Linked DNA regions of Homo sapiens: regions 1 and 3 are each linked to region 2. Evidence: promoter capture Hi-C in 16 types of primary human blood cells and fetal thymus (Javierre and others, 2016). All regions are on one chromosome and are shown on one strand. Each heading gives the region's core, a stretch centred on a gene start or on the middle of the fragment in contact. The rest is flanking DNA. Distances are from core to core; before and after follow the strand shown. Region 1 has its middle 27 kb from the start of TREML4. Region 2 holds the start of UNC5CL (unc-5 family C-terminal like). Region 3 holds the start of TREML4 (triggering receptor expressed on myeloid cells like 4).

Region 1 (4,899 bases), core at 2,368-4,867, 210 kb before region 2:
TGTTTCAACTAGAAGGTCGGAGGCAAAAAAAAAAAAAAAAAAAAGGCTTGTTAAGTCCGATTAAGCTTTGAGAGCCCCAGTACCTTCAAGGCCTGTCTACTGCGGTACCGGAGTGATTATTTCTATCTTATCTCCTTTATAGTTTGGTCCAGAGATTTTCTTTAGACTCTGCAATGAATCTATTCAAACAGCTGCCCCTGTTACCTCGGGTCATCTCAGATTTTGTCAACCCAAGTTGGGCCCTGGCACTAGGAATGTAAGACTGCCTCTACTATTTGGCTTGCTCCAGGTTAAGGAGAAGCCCAGGTAAGGTCCTACTGACCATATGTTTCATTCCTAGCTTTGATGTCTGGGCACTGATTTCCTTAGGTTTAACTATTTGCTCAATGTTAAGGCAGTGCTGTGGAAATCTGTCTGTGTAACTGGAGTGCTATGCAGGTCTGTCTATGTGATTGTCAGGGAGAATTGGCCTGCCACATTTCTTTACATTAATTTCTGCACATCTGGTGTAATAGTCATTTCTTCTGTGTTTGAATTTACTCTCATGAGGGGAGGGGGAGGCTTTTTTCTTGAAGATGTGACTATAATCTTGTTTTGGTAGTACCCTTAAGCTTTGCTTCTGGATGTGTGCAGTGGTGAAGACTCTGTATGAGTTATTTGGCTATAAATAGTGTTGGTAGTATCTGTGGTTTCCTTGGTGTGTTTGGATGTAGTTATTGGTGGAGACTATGGTGAAGTTGTGCTGGGGACTGAAATGCCAGATGGGCCTTTAGGTTTCAGTAGTAGCAGTGGTGGGCTAAGCATGTCTATTCTTGTGACCTAGGGCAGCGTACACTGGCACTTGTATTGATGGGCCTAGGCAGGCTGATTCTTGGGCATCTGGGGTGGCTTTTTCTAAGGTCAGTTGCAGTAGTGGTGTACTTGGCAGGTGAGTGGGCTCTCAACTCCTGGACAGCCAAAGTGGCATGGGTGATGGCAATAGCAGTAGTGGCGAGTTCTTCTTCTTGGTCCTGAGTGCTGTGTTTTTGTGTTGGCAGTGGTTGCAATGGGCTGTGTGGACCGGCCTTCAGGTCAGTAGGTGGAGCTTGAAGGTAGAAGCCAGCTGAGGTGGGAGTGGTAGGGTGTTTTTGCCTGACTTCTGTCCTGCATAGGGGGAAGTGTGTGGGTGTCCCAGGTGGTGGATTGGGTTGTGAAACCCCTCGGAGCTTAGATTCTGCACTCTGTCTCGGGGTGGGAGGTAGGATGAAGCTGGGCACAACTTGGCCAGGAAAGCTGATACTCAGACCCTCCAATGGCGAGTGCATGCACCAGCTGCTACAGGGGGATGGAGCAGTACTCAGGCCCCTGGCAAAATGCTTCAGTGAGGGGCAAGCATTGTTGCACTGAGGTCCTGCTACAGGGAGTGTGGGGGTGGTCCCAGTAGCCACAGATTTGGCAACTGGTTGAGGATTTGCATTCCTCTTATGCCCCCGTCGTGGTGGGGCTCCCTCCCATATCCTGGCTGTCATAGTAAACCCAGTGTTCAGTCAGGCCAGGCAGTTTGCACCTGGCCTGTAACTTAGCCCTGGGCTATAGGAACCCCTGCCCAGCTCAACCAAGTCACTGAGGCAAATCTCATCCTGCTCAGGTTTTGGGGAGGAGGTGTACCCTGTTCCAGCATTGAAGCTGAAGTCCACACTATGCTTACTTCTTAGTCCTGGTTGTGGGAACCTATTCCTCACTGAAGCCCTGGTTCTGCAAGTTGCAGCCTGAGTTTCCTTAATGCCTAAGACTGCCATCACTGGTTCCTAGGACCACACACAATTTTTTAAGAGCAAGGATCAAGAATGGCAGTTTCTTAGGTCTCAGGAAGGGTGTGAAACCCAGGGCATGCTACCTCCATGGGGAAGTTTCTTCTCACAGTCTCCCAGCTGCTCTGTAAGTTAGATTCAGGGATTGGAGAGTCAAGTTGCACTCCCATGTCCTGGATTGTATGATTCCCCAGTGGGAAAGTGGATCACAGAAAGACTCTCACTCACTCTCTCCCATTTGGGAGGGTCTGTTCTGGTTCCCAGCTGGTCCCAACTACACAAGCTTCCTGTTTTCTTTCTATTTCCTTGATTTTGGACTTTTCTTTTGCTTTTCTGTTGAACTCTCAAGTTCCCTCTTGGATAATGTATTCAAAGTGTGATTGTCTACACACTATTTGGTTCTTCTAAGTGGATGAGGTGTGATTAAAATGCTTCCAGGCAGCCATCTTGGAAAAAAAACTAGATATTATTCTATGTTAGAAATTGCAAATATCTTGTCTCAGTCTGTCATTTGTCACTTGTTAAGCTCATGTGAGACAAGGCTGCGCCAAAGCCAAGTCCTGACTGATTTGACTGCTAATAATGCAATTAGCCGCTTTTTTTTTTTTTCAAGGAGTCTTGCTCTGTGGCCAGGCTGGAGTGCAGTGGCACAATGTCAGCAATGAGCCACTTTTACTTTCAGTCAATTTATTATTTACACAGACAACAAGGGAAAGATTAGGCAAAGGTGCCAGCTCCTCATGGCTCTTGTCCCACACCCCAAAACAAAAGGGGCCAGACAACTGCAATATGAGTTGTGGGACATTCCACTGCTGAGGAATCTACTCTAGAGGCAGATAAGTGGTTTCATAACCTGCAGCCCTATTCTGAGGTCTGGGACAGAGCCTCTGGCCTCATCAGAACTCAGGAGGGCATGAGGAACTGTCTTTCAGGGGAGACAGAGAAGTTACTGGGCCATGGTTCTCACAAGCCTCCATCCTTTTATGTTCTAGGAGGGTTGCAGGCATTCTGCCATGCTTCAAATTAGCTGTAGTTCATGTGTCTGCCAGTGTGACCTATGTGGCATATGCAAGGTTGTCAAGACAATATCATGGAGCTGTTCCCCTATGTTGCTTTTGTCCACAGTATATTTTGTTAGAAAAATAATTTTTTTATTGGGAATAGAAACCATCCATACCCACATTCAGTCTTGACACTGAGAACTGAAATCACACCTTGCTGTCTACATTAACATGACTTTGCTATTCCTCTGTCTTTGTGAATACTACTTTACCAGGAGTTTTCTTGTCTGGGAAAATGGTTTGCTTGTTCATTATAGGAAATTCCTGAAAGATTCATCAACTCTTTCATGGAAAGCCCTAAGAGGTAGTTGGCAACATAAGATTCTTTGAATCCCCCACTTCAAAATCCTCATCCTATTGTTTCTACCAATCCAGGACTGTTTGATCGTGATCCTTACTTAATCATAGCCCAGCCCCTGCTTTGAAAGACCTACCTTAAATCAAACTTCTCAATAAGTCCTAATCTTGCCTTAAAACACTCCCAAAATTTTGTCAAGGTGGCTATTTACATTTAAATTAACAAAAATTAAATGATAAATAGAAATTCAGTCCTTCACTCTCATTTGTCTCAGGTCAGATGCTCAATTACCACGCATGGCTAGTGGCTACCCATGTTGGACAGGGAGAGAGAACATTCCACCATTGTAGGAAATGCTGTTTTATAGACTTTTGCCTCAACATAGTCAACTAAAAAGCATTCAGCTCCTTGTTATAAATTTAGCTTCTTATTAATACAGATTAAACATTTTATAGTACAATGTGCTTTTATACTTAAGTAGCTTGGATCATTGTTTCCATTTAATTAAAGCAGATTTTCCTCTTAAAGGGAAAAAAATCGCATAAATTTTTTTTTTATTTCAAAAGAAAGAGTTTTATTCTTTCTCATTCCTCAGCCTGTTTGTCCTTTCCTCTCTGAGTTTCTTTCTGAAGTATTTATAAAAAAATACTGAGATGGGCTTCATTTCCAGAAATTCTGATTCTATTGGTCTGTGTATGAGAACACACACATCAGTATTTTTTTTTTAAAACTAACCAAACAAGGCAAAAACCAATATTGCATTTAGCCCTAACATGTGGCTCCTGCTGAGAGCTGTTGGGTGAACAATGTCTTCCAGCTCTGGGTTTCTAGCATGCCTACTGAATTGACAAGGAAGCTAAAGCCAGAGAGGGTTCCTGACTCACCCAAAGTCACAGTCAGTTAGTCAGGTAGATACTAGATCCAGGGTCCCTCATTCAGAGTGCGTTCCCACTACTCATCAGGCCCCTGGGGTTGGATGAGCTCCATTGGAATTTGGGGAGGATGCCATTTCCCTCTCCTTAATACTCAGGTTGCAAGAAAACAAGGAAGGTGAACTAGGGAGAATGACAGCCTGGCTGAGAGCCTCCCCTATTCTCCATCACCACCTCCTTCTTCCCCTGGACATTTCTACCCAGACTAATGTGACTCAAGTCTGCTCCTGCCCCACCTTCCCCTTTCCCTCACTCCCACATCCTCTCAGCACACGAACTGGGGAACAAAGAGCTTGATGTCCAAACCCGGGGCTCAGAGGCTGGGAAATCATAGTTGATGACATTTGTCACATTTTTATTGTTGACTGTGGGCCAGGAGTGGAGACATCAGCAGTTGACTTGGGTGAAGGCTGGGTCATGGTTCTTGGGCTGGCATACAGTGGGCTCAGGGCCTTAGTGGTGGTAGGAAGAACTGTGGGAATCTGAGGCATGTTCTGGGTAGGATTAACATTGGAGGCAGGGGTACCTAAGAGACCTGTGAAAAGAACATTGGATGAATGGATGGATGGATAAGTGGGTGATTTAACGGATAAACTATTTGGAAGTGAGTGGATGGGTAGGTGGATAAATAGATGGATGAGTGGAGGAATGGACAGGATGTAGGAAGAATAAGTAGATGAAAAGATGGATGAGTGGGTGAATGGGTAGGTGTTAGGGTAAATGGAGCTAAGGAAGGAAATGGACATGGCCAAGAAGCAGGGTTTTCTTTTGCTATAACCTAAGAATACTGTGTGATCAGCCTAGGTTAGAGTCAGGAA
Region 2 (5,020 bases), core at 1,981-4,480:
ACCATATCAGACTGGCACACTCATGGGGCCCACCCAGGCTGATCTCCTGCCCAAATTCAAACTTGGCCTGTTGACACCGTGGATTCCTTTTTCTGAACTTTTAGCTCTCTTCTACCCCTGGAGCCATGGGGTATGAGCTTCCTGCTCCATCTTTCCATTCCCAGAGTGTCAGGATGTAAGCACAAGCATCCAGGTTTCTTGTGGCCTGACTTTTCAAGGAAACAACTGCCTGGTCTTTGATTAAAAAGCTGCCAAGGTGGCATGTTGCTTTGCATGTCATTTGCATGTGGGACAATGTACAGACCCTCCTCCAGCCAAGGCCCCACCAAGGCCCCACAAATATCATTCTTCTCATTTGTTCATGATATTTCAGCCTCCCCCCATGATTAACCAGATTTGAAGGAGAGAAAACAATCTGATTATTTTCAGTATTCTGGACTGACTATCTAATCCATCCTTTTTTTTTTTTTCTTTTCATACAGAGTTTCACTCTTGTTGTCCAGGCTGGAGTGCAGTGGTGCAATCTCGGCTCACTGCAACCTCTGCCTCCCTAGTTCAAGTGATTCTCCTGTCTCAGCCTCCCTAGTAGCTGGGATTACAGGCGTGCGCCACCATGCCCGGCTAATTTTGTATTTTTAGTAGAGATGGGGTTTTGCCATGTTGGTCAGGCTGGTCTCGAACTCCTGACCTCAGGTGATCCACCCGCCTTGGCCTCCCAAAGTGCTGGGATTACAGGCATGAGCCACTGTGCCTGGCCCTAATCCATCCTTTTCTGTCAAGGGTCAGGGACACTGGTCCTGGAGGTTCTGGGACAGAGCTGAGCAGCATGCCCACCTGTGCATATTTCTACTTGTCTTTCTGTGCTCCTGACTGTCCGTTTGCTCATCTTCTGCCTTCCTGTTTTTCTACATTTCTGTCCAGTGGTGGAGGCCCCCTCCCTGCCCCTCCCTGCCCCCATCCTCTTTTCTCCTGACACCTGCCTCTCCCAGTGCCTCCTGGTTCCTAGGCCTGTGCTCCCCTTACCTCTGGCAGCACACCTCCCAGGCGGGGGGCCTGATGACATATGATGTGTGGAAGGCAGAGGAGGGTGGGGCTGGGAGGAGGGTGGGGCTGGGAGGAGGGTGGAGTGGTGCTCCCTGCTGATCTGCCTTTCTCAGATGAGAAGGGTGGTGACACTGGCTGGGAAGTCCAAGTTGCTGTTTCATGGCCCCAAAGAGTTCCTCTCAGGAGGAGCCCCTCTGGTCTGCCAGACCCTCCTTGGTGCCTGGCCTCTGGAGGCTACCCCTTGATGGAATGTTTGAGGGCTTGTGGTGAGGGTTTGACACTGGCCCTCCTGTGACAGCTCAGCCCCCAGTTATAATGCTGTTGATGCCTGTGGTCTTTGCATCCCATGAACCAGCTCTGTGGCCATGGGAGTGAGTGGTAGGAGCCTTCACATTTCTTCAGAGCCTCCTTATAATTGGGATTGTCCCCAAGAGTGGCAAGAACTAGCTTGGGAAGTGAGTTCATAATCCATGAACACAGCCCCTGGTTATAGCCTCCTGGTTGGCATGACCTTCCTGGCTTAGAACCCTAGCTTGACAGATCTTTCACAAACCCCTAGGACTTTATGACTCAGAGGAGAAGGCAGCTGACAAGTGGAGGTGGGTGGGGAGTCAAGGAGGAGTGACCTGGCGCTTCCTGGCAGAAAGTCCTGCCTCCCAGCCGCCCTAAAGAGGGGTAGGGGAGAGTGTCCCTGTCTGTTGGCAAAGTCCAGCCTCCTGTGTGACTCAGACAGAGCTTTGTTCAACAAAGACAAACACCCCTACCCCACTCCTTTCATTCCCTATCAAAGTTCTGAGCACCCCTTCCTGGCTTGTCTTTAGGCATGAGGTCTGCTTCCCAGGTTGCCCGCTCTCTACCATCTCTGCACTTTGGGGTACTGGGCTCCCCTGGGAGGTTTATTCCACCCTCTCACCTCCACCAGGGAAGGAAGCAGAGGGGAGGGCATTGCAGTCAGAGACAAGAGGCTAGAGAATTATTAACTGAGACAAAAGCAGAGGAAGTTACTTATTTTCTATGGGAGATGATAACTAGGGGCCTGGGGGGGCGTTCACCATGCCTCCTCAACTGCAGGAGGCCAGACCCTGGTGACAACGGTTACCATCTATTGACCACCCATTCTGTGGTGGGCATTTGACATTTATTAGCTCAATAATGACAATTATTATCTCACACAAGGTAGATATTCTTAACTGCATTTGACAGACAAGGGAATTGAGGTTCAGAGGAGTTAAGTAGCTTGCCCAATATTACATACCCAACGTGTGGCTCACCTGGGCTCAGTGTTGGCCAGTTGGAGCCAAAATGCATCCTTTTCCCTCTCAACTGCTTCACTCATTCATTCAAGACATGTTTATTGAACACCTTCTATCTATCAGGCTGTACCAGGAGCTGAGGAGACAGCCGAAAACATGGGAAAAGTTCCACAAGGAGTTTTCATTCTTGTGGTGCCACCGCTCCTAGGCAGAGTTTTAAGAACTCAGAATGGCAAATGGCCCCAAAGTTCAGTTGTCTCCCAACCGGCAGTGTCTCTGCCAACTTTGGGTGGGGGAAGTAGAAAGCACCTTGTGTAAGGAAAAATATGGGTACATCTCAGGTCCACCAGCAACTGGTGAGTCATTAACCGTCTCAGTGGCTCCACTGTCTTCTCTGTGTGGGGAGCGGGTGGAACTAGATGCTCTCTAAGCTCCTTGGACCGGTTGCATTGGCATCAGCTGGGAGCTTCTTTGAGCTGCAGAATCTCAGGCCCCATACTAGACCTACAGAATCAGAGCCTGCATTTTAACAAGATCTCCCAGGTGACTGTTGTGCACATTATAGTTTAAGAAACTCAGATGAAGGTTCCCTCCTCCTCCTATCTGCTATTTTAATAATAGCCTCTGGCTGGGGACAGCCACTCACCAGCAGAGGGCACTGTAAGGAGGGGTTTCAAGGTGCAGCACCTACACCCAGGTTGTCTCCCTGCCTCCCTCCTTCCTTCCAGACCTAGACTGGAAAGTTCACTGACTTCTGGGATCCTCAGCTAATCCCTTACCTGGGCTGGACTTTGCCAATAGACAGGGACACTCTCCCTCACCCCTCTTTAGACAGCTGGGAGGCAGGGCTCTGCCAGGAAATGCCAGGCCACTCCTGCCTGGATTCCCCGCCCACCTCCACTTGTCTGCTGGCCTGCCGACTGAATCTGGCTGACCCTTGTTTCTCGGAGAAGGAACTGGACCAGCCAGCAGCCTCTAAGAGCTCCTAGACGGTAAGTTGAGCACCCCCTTGGGGCAGCTGGAGAGGGGATGGGCATTGTGATGGGGTTACCTGGAGCTTCGGGGGAGGAGCCAGGCCAGCTTAGCCTGCCTGCTGGAGTGTAGGGACCCTCTGCTGGAGGAGGGGAGGAAAATGGGACTTGGCCAATGGGTATGAGGACCACTGGGATGATTCTGTGTCCTGCGGAAATGTCTACTATACTAACAAATGCCATTCATGACTTGGGTTTGGACCATCCATCCCAGTACTTGTTATGTTCTGCAGTAACTGGACATCTATCAGGTGTTGGGGAGGCACAGGGAGAACCAGTGAGGTGGAGGAAAGGTTGAGAGTTTTCTTAAAGGGTATGAGCAGAACTTTGCAGCAGGAGTTTGGATCTTTGTGCTGGAGGATGCAACTGCCTAGGGACAGGTGATGGCAGCATTCTAAAGGACTCTCGTTTCGGGGACCCGCTACCCAGGGTGATCTGGGGTCTGGAGCAAGACAGACTGGAGGAGTGGGTAATGAGGAGTCCAGGCATGGGGTTGGGATGCCCCAAGTCACACTCGAATGGCTGCAGTGCTATAGTTGCCATTCAGCAAGACTCCGGACCTTTCCCCATTCTGGAGCCAGAGGGAGGATGCAGTGAGGGCCAGGGCAGCCTGGAAGAGCAGTCACCCTGGGAGAGGCCCAGTGGGGCTTTGGGAGTGGTGCATGCCAACTTCTCCAGGGTCGGAGGTTGAGCCAGGGGACTCTACTGCACCACCCAGTGAGGTGCACCTCACTGGGGATCTGGACTCTGGTCTTTGGTGGCCCCAGGAAGGTTACTGCTGTGTAAGCGAGCTGGGGCCCCTCCTTTCATCCCTTTAGCAATTCCATCCCCTGCCACTGGTACCTTGGTAGGTGGGGGTGTGGTGTAGTGGGGTGGGTATTACCACATAACTGAGGATGTAAATTTAGGTCCTTCTATTTGTCTTTACTTCATTTTTGCTTCTTTCTCTTCCAACTTTATTTCTTCTAGAGAAGGAAAGGAAGATACTTGGGGAAAAGAAGGGGTGGAGAGAGAAAGGGGGTATCTCTGGAAGTCCTTGTTCGTCTTTGCTCCTCCTTCCTGCCTGTCTTCAGTTGTTTAGTAATTCCCTATCCATCTTCACTGTGGGGAGAAAGCTCGGATTCCTTATCTGTGAAATGGAGATAAAAATAACACCTCGCTCCTAAGGCTGCTGTGAGGATGAGATGAGACAAGCCATGGAGAGTGCTTTAACACAGTGGCATTGAGTAAAGCTCTGCGAATGTTAGCTATTGTTATTACAGTTGGAATTATAATTATTACTAATGTGAAAGAACCAAAAGAAATGATGGGACATCAACGGTAGCTTGCTGCTCCAACCCCCTTCCCATCAGCTTTGGGACACTGCCAATTCACTGATTCACCTGTGTGCCCTCCAGGATGCCTGGTTGAAAAAGGCTGGTGCATTGTCTGCTGGGTTGGCTCTTTAGGCAAAGAGAACAATGCCAACCCCCGCTTCTTATTCACACTTTCAGTGAGGACATGGGAGAAACAGGTACTGCCCCAGTCTTCAATCCTGAGGATACAGTGGAGGTTCTGCCCTGGTCTAAGAGGCACTAGGAAGGGGCTTCAGTTTTCATGGGTCCTGAGGTTGGAAGGAAGAAGGTGGGCCAAGCCTCAGTTCCAGGTGGGTAGTGCAAGTGAAGGGCGTGGGGAGGACTGGATACTGGAAGC
Region 3 (4,611 bases), core at 33-2,532, 190 kb before region 2:
AGGCTCCCAAGCTGCCTGGTGACCCTTCTAATCTTCCCCCACCGAGGCCTCCAACCTACCTGTGCTTGTTGGGAGCCAGGGAAGAGTCCACATAGGAGACGTGGTTGGGGCTAAAGAGAAAAGACAGCAGACAATGACTCTCCAGGGGCCCAGAAGAGAGTAGGGTCTACCCCATACATAAGAGGAGGTAGGGGCCCAGAGCCAGACCCTCAGGATGTCTTAAGCCAGGAGTGGTCTGTGCCTAAGATCTGCATGACAGAGTTGTTGGTGTGTGTGTGTTAGTGTGTGTGTGAAAAGAAGAGTTGTGGGTGTGCCTGTGTAAGACAAAGAGAGACGCAGAGTGACAGACAGACTGTGTCTCTGTCCAGGGACCTCTGAGGGTACCTTCCCAACAATTGAGGCCAGGATGTACCGGGTGGAGGAGAGGTGAGAGTCCATGTTTGGGGACAGGATCTTTGCTCCCCTTGGACCACAGCAGAATACCTGGCAGGATGGGGGATGATAGAGGCATGGGAGGGGGTGCATGACATTTCCTTCAGGTCCCTGGGGGGTGGCACAGAGGTATTTCCTCAAGAAAAGAGCTCACCTGGAGACACCACCAGGCTGATATTTCTAAGAACAGTGATGATGTTTTCGGAAGCGTTGTAGATTCCACACCAGTAGAATCCCGAGTCATTCTGTGTCAGCTGAATCATGGTGATGTTGAAGAAGCCAGCATTGGGCTTGTCCCAGATTGTGTAATGAGACTTCTGAACTGCTGTCCAGGGCTTGGAGCTGGTGACAAGTAAGGTACACCGACTTGGAGATGTCTGCTGACACCAGGATTTGGGCTGATAGGGCCCTCTCTTGGGTGAGTACTGGCATTGCAGGAGGAGGGTCTGTCCTGGGTGTTTGTGAAGTTCTTCAGGCACAGCACCCTTTACCCAGGAACCGGCAGAAAGAAACCCAGGTCAGAGCTCTGAAGGGACCCAACCTCCCCCATCACAGGCTGGGGAAGGGGAGGGGGAACTAGTTCTGATGCCCACACATGGAAGAGGGCCCCTAAATTCTGTCCTATGGTCACACAGCCATGCTGCTCCCTGCCCCACTCATTCTTCATCCCACTCCTTACACCCCCTGCACTCTTTCCCTCCATGTCACCTGAGGCCAGGAGCAGCAGCAGCACAGGTGGAAGCAGCAGGTGTGGACCCCACCCCAGGCCATTCCAGCCCAGATCTGTTTCTGACAGCGGAGGAGAGGAGAAAAAAGGGAGCCCTCTCAGGAGGAGTCAGACGCTGGGTCTGATTCTGCCCCAGGTTCCCAGTGTCTCTCAGCTGGTAAAATTGAGGAAGTCAATGTCTTGCTGGGGAAATGGTCGGCCTGGGAGGGCGGGCTCTGCAGACCAGGGGAGGAGGGGCAGCCAGGCCTTGAAAGGGGCCACCAGCTACAGGGTCTGTCTCTGGGCCTGGGCACCTCAGCCCTGCTGTGTTGCTCTGCCGCCTTTCACTGAACTTCTCCCCATGTCTGCTGCTTTATGCCTTCCAGCCAGTCATACTGCTCCTCTATTGCTAGGGGCAGCTCTCAGCATGGCCAAGAATAAAGCTGGTGAATAAAGCTGGGGTCATCCCTCTTTCCTTCTCTCTGTGCACTTCCTATAGGTGGTCAGGGCCCTTGGAGGCACGACCAGACCCCTGAATCCTTCTGGTCTAGCCATGGTGGGTTGATGATGAGTTTTGACCCTGAGACATTTTGTAGAGGGCAGATTTTAATCCCAGGAATTACAAGATGTTCCCTGGAAATGGTGGGGCCAGGAAAGCAGGGAGGAAAGAGAGTGCTGGTCAGGGAAAGTTGGAGGGGAAGGCAGGTAGGAGTGGATCAGTTATGGTAGCTTGGGATCATCTCAATCAGTGCTTGTTGGATGAATACATCAGTGGATGAAAGAACAACGCGTGTGTAAAATGTACAGAAAAAGAAAATGGCCGAAGTGAGAACTATCTAGCAACAAAACCAAGTGGTACTGGATTACTACCCAATGTATATATTAAATCTCTAGGAGTCCATGCTGATGTAAGTAAATGACTGAATAAAGAACTGGGGGGGGGAATAGACAAATATCCCATGCATAAGGATTCTGCTGTGTTCAGAATGTTGTTCCCCCATCTCATATATTCAAACTTAATTTCCATGTGATAGCGTTAAGAGGTGGGATCTTGTGGGAAAATCTTAAGTCATGAGGGCGTCATCCTCAAGAATGCAATTAATGCCCTTATACCAGAGATTGCAGGAAGCAGATTTGCGCTGTCTGCCATATGAGGACAGTGTTCATGCCTTCAGTCAACTGAGGTTACTGCAAGAAAGCACCACCTTGGAAGCAGAGAGCAGCCCTCAGCAGATACCACATCCACTGACACCTTGATCTTTGACTTCCCAGACTCCAGAACTTTGAGAAAGAGATTTCTATTATTTAGAAAGTCTCCAGTCTAAGGCATCTTCTCATAGCAGCCTGAAGGGACTGAGAGAGATTGCAAACAATTCTTATAGGTATTCTGCCCTCAAGGCAGAAGCATAAATTCCCACGGCTTAAGCATGGGCTGTGCAGGTGACTTTCCTCCAGAGGATAGCATGGGAAGGAAGAGAAGAGTAACTGTACAGTGGAGAAACCTGACACTTACTGTGGCAGCCAGGCAACCAAAGTGCAGACCCACAGGGATAACTCAGGTTGTTAGAATGTGTCATTGACTTGATGTGATGACAGGGCAATTAGCTGTGCAGTCTCCTTCCCCAAAGCCGCTGGCCCCAGGAGAAAAACATCAAACAAATTCCACATGAGGGACATTCTACAAAATACCTGAGCAGCGTTCCTCAAAACTGTCAAGGCCATCAAAACTAAGAAATAATTCTCAGAAACTGCTATGAATAAGAGGAGCCTAAGCAGACATGAAGACTAAAAGCAATGTGGCTTCCTAGGTGGGATCCTGGAGCACAGAAAGTACATGAGGTAAAAGCCAGGGTAATCTGAATGAAGTAAGGACTTCAATTAATAAAATCTACCACAGAAACAGAGTAGAATGGCATTACCAGAGGCTGGGAATTGGACAAACTGGGTAGGTATTGTTGAAGAAACACAATATGTTAGACAGAAAAAATAAGTTCAAGAGATCTATTGCACAGTATGGTGAGTGCAGTTCATAACTATGAATTGTACAATTGAAAATGACAGAAAATAGATTTTAAATGTTCTCACCACAAAACAAGTAAGTATATGTGGTATTGCTTGATTTAGTAATTTCACAGTTAATACACACATCAAACTATCCTACCACGCATTATAAATATATGAGTTCTACTCATCAATTTTGTAAAATTATAGTAATGTATCAATATCAACTCATTAATTGTGAGAAATGTAGCATACTATTGGACTATATTAATAATAGAAGACATTGAACATAGCACATCAGGGAAGTATGCAATACCTACACAACTCTTCTGTGAATCTGAAAGCATTCTAAGTGTAAAAGATTAGTTTTAATATGTATAGAAACGATTTACACAAAGCATATGAATAATCACTTGATACATAACAAACAGCGTGTACATAACAAACAGCAAAGTTTTAAGAAATCTTAGTACGGCTAGGTGTAAAGCACCTACTAACACTTGATGGTAATAAGAGTCATTTTCTTAAACACACTGAAGTTTCTAAGAAAAGTATGATAAATTCTGGAAGAGGAAAATAGGAATTTATTCTCTGCATCTGTATCATTTGATGCCTTCAGTGTGATATGTCACACATAGTGTCCGATGTACTGATTGCTGTAAATGAAAATTTGTTACTATAACGTTTATACTACAGAATAGGGTTTATTTGGTGTAACAAGGCAAATACTATATTTTTACAAATAGCGTTTATTTGACATAACAAAGCAAATACTATATGTTTATTTTTCACTTAGTCATATTTGACTTTCATTGACAGCAAAAGAAACAACAAAACTTATAAATTTTAACTATTGTGATCTCAGTTTTGGCTGAGAGTATTCAGGTAGACACTGTGAACTCACTATATATTCATTGCCACCTCTTTCTTTCTTCCCTTCCTTCCTTCCTTCCTTCCTTCTTTCCTTCTCTCTCTTTTTCTTTCTCCTTCCTTCCTTCCTTCTTTTTTCTTTTCTTTTCTTTCTTTCTTTCTTTCTTTTTTCTTCTTCTGTCTCTCTTTTTCTTTTCTTGAGATGGAGTTTTACACTTTCGCCCAGGTTGCAGTGCAGTGGTGTGATCATGGCTCATTGCAGCCTTGACCTCCCAGGGCTCAAGTGATCCTCCCACCTCAGCCTCCTGAGTAGCTGGGAGTGTGGGCACACACCAATGCACCTTGTTATTATTATTATTATTGCTTTTCATAGAGACAACGTTTCACCATGTTGGCCAGGCTTGTCTTGAACTCCTGGACTCAAGAGATCCACCCAGCTTAGCCTCCCAGAGTGCTAGAATTACAGGTGTGAGCCACTATGAGTGGCTGCCACCTCTTTTTCATGGGTCTTTCTATAGTAAAAGGTCTACAAGATCATTTCTGATTCCTTTGCAGCTAGGGTTCCAGATATATTTTAGGTCCCACCCATTCAATGTATTTGT

What was found. Contacts are between HindIII fragments. The CHiCAGO score rates a contact against its expected background, and 5 or more counts as called.
Region 1: a fragment that was not itself captured here is called in contact with the fragment with the promoter of UNC5CL in region 2 in 1 of 17 cell types (neutrophils); the score reaches 5.1 in neutrophils.
Region 3: a contact is called between the fragment with the promoter of TREML4 here and the fragment with the promoter of UNC5CL in region 2, in 7 of 17 cell types (neutrophils, activated CD4 T cells, naive CD4 T cells and 4 more). The highest score is 9.9, in neutrophils.

What each region holds. Positions count from the first base shown.
Region 1 is chr6:41,252,415-41,257,313 of GRCh38, reverse strand. No RefSeq gene overlaps it. Among named protein-coding and RNA genes, the nearest start is that of TREML4, 27 kb to the right of the region's middle. The HindIII fragment of the contact is 3,084 bases long and covers 2,076-4,899 here.
Region 2 is chr6:41,037,431-41,042,450 of GRCh38, reverse strand. It overlaps UNC5CL (unc-5 family C-terminal like), which reads left to right and starts at 3,230. Exons shown (of 9, transcript NM_173561.3): 1 at 3,230-3,289. It also overlaps a transcript of TSPO2 not described here. The HindIII fragment of the contact is 17,483 bases long and covers 1-5,020 here.
Region 3 is chr6:41,225,020-41,229,630 of GRCh38, reverse strand. It overlaps TREML4 (triggering receptor expressed on myeloid cells like 4), which reads right to left and starts at 1,282. Exons shown (of 6, transcript NM_198153.3): 1 at 1,141-1,282; 2 at 587-917; 3 at 60-110. The coding sequence starts at 1,203. LOC105375055 (a long non-coding RNA gene) reads right to left here. Exons shown (of 3, transcript XR_926794.3): 3 at 3,803-4,611. The HindIII fragment of the contact is 15,987 bases long and covers 1-4,611 here.